Regions from separate parts of the Homo sapiens genome. Here region 2 is linked to region 1. The links are contacts of gene promoters, found by promoter capture Hi-C in human tissues and cell types (Jung and others, 2019). All regions are on one chromosome and are shown on one strand. Each heading gives the region's core, a stretch centred on a gene start or on the middle of the fragment in contact. The rest is flanking DNA. Distances are from core to core; before and after follow the strand shown. Region 1 holds the start of PRSS22 (serine protease 22). Region 2 has its middle 16 kb from the start of ABCA3.

Region 1 (2,773 bases), core at 93-2,592:
ATAAATACTATATTTATATTTGTATAAATATATTTATTACATACATATTCACTACTATGGTTTTTTTTTTTTTTTTTTGAAACAGAGTCTCGCTCTGTCGCCCAGGCTGGAGTGCAGTGGCGTGATCTCAGCTCACTGCAACCTCCGCCTCCCAGGTTCAAGCGATTCTCCTGCCTCAGCCTCCCAAGTAGATGGGACTAAGGGCGCCTGCCACCATGCCTGGCTAATTTTTTTTTTTTTGTATTTTTAGTAGAGACGGGGTTTTACTATGTTGGCCAGACTGGTATTGAACTCCTGACCTCATGATCTGTCCGTCTTGGCCTCCCAAAGTGCTGGGATTACAGGAATAAGCCACCCCACCCAGACACTATGGTTGTTTTTAATTCACCCCCGGCGGTAGCAAGGGCCCTGCTGGAGGCTTGTTGATCGAATGAGTGAAGGGGCGCAGGCTCCTGCCTCTTTGTAGAGGAGGAAGCCTGCCCTGCTTGGGTGGGAGTGTCCCAAGTGTGGGGCGCTGCAGGGCACTGAGTCAGGGAAGGTCTCACAGGATTCAGCCCCGGGTTGCCACTGTGGCAGCCGCTGGGGGGAAGCACCGAGAATCCACTCCCAGCCCAGGACCCGGCCCCCCACAGCCCAGCCCAGCAGCTCTTTGAATCCTGGGAGTCCCAGCCCTTCCCGGGGCCCCTCTTCTCTCAACCCCCCTGCTTGGCCGAGCCCTGGTGCCCATGGGCTCCTCCCCTTCCCAGGAGTCCAGGTGAGGTGAGTTGTCAGGTGTCTGAACCGCAGGGCAGAGCCCCGCCTCCAGGAACGACAGGAGGGCGGCCACCAGGAGGCCACCAAGGTCGCCACTCACCTGATTCACAGCTTTCGGGAAGTGGGTTAACGGGATTCCCAAGCCCGGGTTGCGCCAGGTCTCTGGGCTGAGTCACAGGGGCCTGGGGCCCTGCAGGTGGGAGCCGTTACTGAGCTTTGGGCACCCCCTTGATCCCTAAGGCCCTAGGACCACCCCCAACACCCAGTACCCCAGACTTCAGCCTCTCCAAACCCAGGCCCTCCCCAGCCCGGAACCCCTTCCTTTCAGTGCCCTGGCACCTTTCTCTGCCCCTGGACAATTAATGTCAGGGACCTCTGGGCCCAAGCCCCCTCCCCTGCCCTTCCAGAGGCCACATCCTGGGGTCTCAGCTAGAGCCCCCCCAGAGCCCTGTAGCGGCTGGCTTCCTCCCCGCAGCCCCGCCCTCTGCCCAGGACCCACAGCCGGGGTGGCCGCGGGAGCCACCTGGGGACTGGTCTGACGGCATTCCGCCTCCCAGGATAAAACCTGGGGCGACCTGCAGGGAACCTACACACCCTGACCCGCATCGCCCTGGGTCTCTCGAGCCTGCTGCCTGCTCCCCCGCCCCACCAGCCATGGTGGTTTCTGGAGCGCCCCCAGCCCTGGGTGGGGGCTGTCTCGGCACCTTCACCTCCCTGCTGCTGCTGGCGTCGACAGGTACGTCCGGAGGCTGCTCCTCCCTCCTCCCTCTCACCTCCACCCTCCTTCCCTCCTTCCCTCCCTCCCTCTCTCCCTCCTGGCCTTGCCTCTCTCATCTCCTTTCCGCTTCTGCTCTGTTTATCTCTTGCTCCTTAACTGCTCTGTGCCTCGGTTTCTTCTACGGCTGTGAGGATGAAACAGAAAACGCAGCAAGTACGCAGCGCGCCTCGGTCTCCAGTTACCGTCGGCGTCGCCATCGCCTGCTCCCTCTCGCCTCCGTGTTCTCCCATCTCCTCGTCCTCCGCTGCTTGCCTCTGGGGAAGCACCGTTTTGTGTTGTTCCTGCCGCAGGAGGTCAGGGGAGGGCACACCAGCGGCAGCAGCGTCCAGAGCCGAGGGGCTCAGGTCTGTGCCTCCCTCGAGGAGCCGGTCCTGGTCCCCGGAAGGCAGGCTGGACGGGAAGCTGCGGGAGGGCAGGGTCACAGCTGTGCAGCCAGGGCCTGGCCAGGCCCCAGGAAATGCCCCGCCGGTAGGGGCCCTGGGGTTGAGAGACTTGAGAGTCTCCCTGGGCACTGGAGGGCTAGAGGTTCCTCACCACCAGGTACTCAAGGGGACCCCCTCCTCACTGGGCGCTGGGACGCCTGCTCACTGGGCGCTGGGACCCCTCCTCACTGGGCGCTGGGACCCCCTCCTCACTGAGCGCTGGGACCCCCTCGTCACTGGGCGCTGGGGACCCCTCCTCACTGGGCGCTGGGGAGCCCTCCTCACTGGGCGCTGGGGACCCCTCCTCACTGGGCGCTGGGGAACCCTCCTCACTAGGCGCTGGGGAGCCCTCCTCACTGGGCGCTGGGGACCCCTCCTCACTGGGTGCTGGGACCCCTTCCCACTGGGCACTGGACCCCTTCTCACTGGGTGCTGGGGGCTTCTCGCTGGGCGCTGAGGGACCCTCCTCACTGGGTACTGGGACCCCTCCTCACTGGGCGCTGAGGGACCCTCCTCAGGGGGTGCTGGGACCCCTCCTCACTGGGCGCTGAGGGACCCTCCTCACTGGGTGCTGGGACCTCCACCTCACTGGGCACTGGGATCCCTTCTTACTGGGTGTTGGGGGCCTTCCTCACTGGGCGTTGAGGGCCCCTCACCACTGTGTCCTGGGGCCCCTCACCGGCCTAACCGTTTCCTTCTCTTGCCCTCAGCCATCCTCAATGCGGCCAGGATACCTGGTGAGTGGAGCTGGCAGCTCTGACGGGAGGGAGAAGGGAGGAGGCCCACGCGCAGGCAGTGTCTATGTGTCCGTCCCCTGGGC
Region 2 (2,773 bases), core at 102-2,601, 500 kb after region 1:
AGGAAAGTATGACCCATTCACAGCAAAAAAGGAAGCTGACACAAACCATTCCTGAGGAAGCCCAGACATAGGACTTACTAGGCAAAACTTCTAAATGGACTGTCTTAAATATTCTCAGAGCTGAAGATGATGGACAAAGAACTAAAGGAAATCTGAAGAATGAAGTGTGTACAAGCAGAAAATTTCAATAAACAGAAAAATTTTAAAGAAACCAAATAGAAATTCTGGAGCTGAAAAGCATAAAAGCTGAAACAAAATAATTCACTAGAAGAATTCAAAGATTTGAGCAAGCAGAAGACAGAATCGGCAAACCTGAAGATAGGGCAGTTAAAATTACCAAGTCTAAGGAGCAGGAAAAAAAAAATGAAGAAAAATGAACAGACCCTAAGGGACCTATGGGACACCATCAAGTGTACCAAATACACATTGTGAAAGTTCCAGGAGAAGAAAGAGATAAAAACATGTTTGAAGAAATAATGAAATAACAACTTCTCAAATGTGATCAATACATGAATCTACAGATCCAAGAAGCTCAACAAACTCCAAGTACAAGAAACTTAAAAAACCCACAAAGAGAGTTATTATAATGAAACCGTCGAATGCTAACGATAAGGAGAGAATTTTTTTTTTTTTTGAGACAGGGTCTGGCTCTGTGGCATGATCATCGTTCATTGCAGCCTTGACCAGCCAGGCTCTAGTGAGCCTCCTTCCTCACCCTCCCAAGTAGCTGGGATTATAGGCATGTAGGCATATGCCACTACGCCCAGCTAACTTTTTTATTTTTTGTAGAGATTGGGTCTGCTTGGTTGCCCAGGCTGGTCTTTAACTCCTGGCCTCAAGCGATCCTCCCACCTCTGTTGCCCAAAGTGTTGGGATTACAGGTGTGAGCCACCATTCCCAGCCCAAGGAGAGAATCTTGAAAGCAGTAGGACAGAAGAAACTTGTACAAGGGATCTTCAGTAAGATTAACAGCTAATTTCTCATCAGAAAACAGGGAGGCAAAAAAGCAGTGGGATGATATATATAAAACGCTTAAAAAAAAAAAACTGTCAAGAATCTATACCCAGCGAAACTATCTTTCAAAAATGAAGGAGAAATTAAGACATTTTTTAGGTAAATAAGAGCTAAAGAAATTTGTCTCTAGTAGACCTGCCCGAAGAAGCATGCCAAAGGAAGTCCCTCAGGCTGAAACAAAAAAATGCTAGATGTAATTTGAAGCCATATGAATAAATAATTATCAGTAAAGGTAACTTTTTAGGTAACTATAAAAACTAGCATTGGCCAGGTGCGGTGACTCACGCCTGTAATCCCAGCACTTTGGGAGGCCAAGGCAGGTGGATCACCTGAAGTCAGGAGTTCAAGACCAGCCTGGCCAACATGGTGAAACCCCGTCTCTACTAAAAATACAAAATTTAGCCAGGCATGGTGGCACACGCCTGTAATCCCAGCTACTCGGGAGGCTGAGGCTGCAGAATCACTCGAACCTGGGAGGCAGAGGTTGTAGTAAGCCAAGATTGCGCCACTGCACTCCAACCTGGGCAACCAAGAGCAAAAGTCCATCTCAAAAACAAACAAACAAAAAAAACAACTAGTATTATTGTACTTTTGGTATGTAACACCTCTGTTTCCCATATGATTTAAAAAATAGAGCCAGATACAGTGGCTCATGCCTATAATCCCAGTGACTCACAGGTTAAGACAAGAGGATCACATGAGGCCAGGAGTTCAAGACCTGCCTGGGAAACATAGTGAGATGTTCATCACTCAAATTTTTTTTAATTAGCCAAGTATGGAGGTACGCACCTGCAGTCCCAGCTACTCGAGAAGCTGAGGCAGAAGGACCACTTAAGCCCAGGAGTTCAAGGCTGCAGTGAGCTATGATCATGCCAATGTACTCCAGTCTGGGTGACAGAGCAAGACCCTGTCTCTAAAATTTTTTTTAAAAAACAAGCTTATGCACACCCATGCACTATTCATGAAAACAGAGTATGTATAGGCCATAAAGAAAATTTCAAATTGTAAGAGGTTGAATGATACTGACCACATTTCTAGATCACACTACACTAAAAGTATTAATAATAAAATAAAAACACCAAAACCAAAAAAGCACTTTTTTTAAATGAAAAACTCTCTCCTAAACTGCAAAATATTCTATCAATCAAGAAAATGAGAAGACAAGCCATAGACTGAGAGAAAATATTTGTAAAAGACATATCTGATAAAGTACTATTATCTGAAATATACAAAGAACTGTTAACAATAAGAAAACAAACAACCTGATTTAAAAATGGGCAAAAAACCTAAACAGTTACTTCACTAAAGAAATATACACATGGCAAGCCTGTAATCCCAGCACTTTGGGAGGCCGAGGTGGGCGGATCATGAGGTCAGGAGATCGAGACCATCCTGGCTAACACGGTGAAACCCTGTCTCTACTAAAAATACAAAAAATTAGCCAGGCGTGGTGGCGGGCACCTGTAGTCCCAGCTACTTGGGTGGCTGAGGCAGAAGAATGGCGTGGACCCGGGAGGCGGAGCTTGCAGTGAGCTGAGATTGGGCCACTGCACTCCAGCCTGGGCGACAGAGATTCCGTCTCAAACAAAAAAAAAAAGAAATATACACATGGCAAATAAGCATATGAAAAGATGCTCAACCTTATACATCATTAGGGAATTGCAAATTAAAACAATGAGATACCATTACACACCTTGATATGTTTTGAATTTGTGTCCCTTCCCAAATCTGATGTTGAATTTGTAATCCCCAATGTTGG

Evidence for each region. The method cuts DNA at HindIII sites, captures the fragments that hold promoters and counts their contacts. A contact is called where the count stands out against the background at its distance.
Region 2: a contact is called between a fragment that was not itself captured here and the fragment with the promoter of PRSS22 in region 1, in 2 of the 25 tissues and cell types used here (dorsolateral prefrontal cortex and spleen).

Annotation. Positions count from the first base shown.
Region 1 is chr16:2,856,739-2,859,511 of GRCh38, reverse strand. It overlaps PRSS22 (serine protease 22), which reads left to right and starts at 1,342. Exons shown (of 6, transcript NM_022119.4): 1 at 1,342-1,489; 2 at 2,664-2,690. The coding sequence starts at 1,408. RefSeq lists enhancers at 156-755, 756-1,356, 1,357-1,957. The HindIII fragment of the contact is 21,792 bases long and covers 1-2,773 here.
Region 2 is chr16:2,355,284-2,358,056 of GRCh38, reverse strand. It overlaps the pseudogene ABCA17P. Among named protein-coding and RNA genes, the nearest start is that of ABCA3, 16 kb to the right of the region's middle. The HindIII fragment of the contact is 5,660 bases long and covers 1-2,773 here.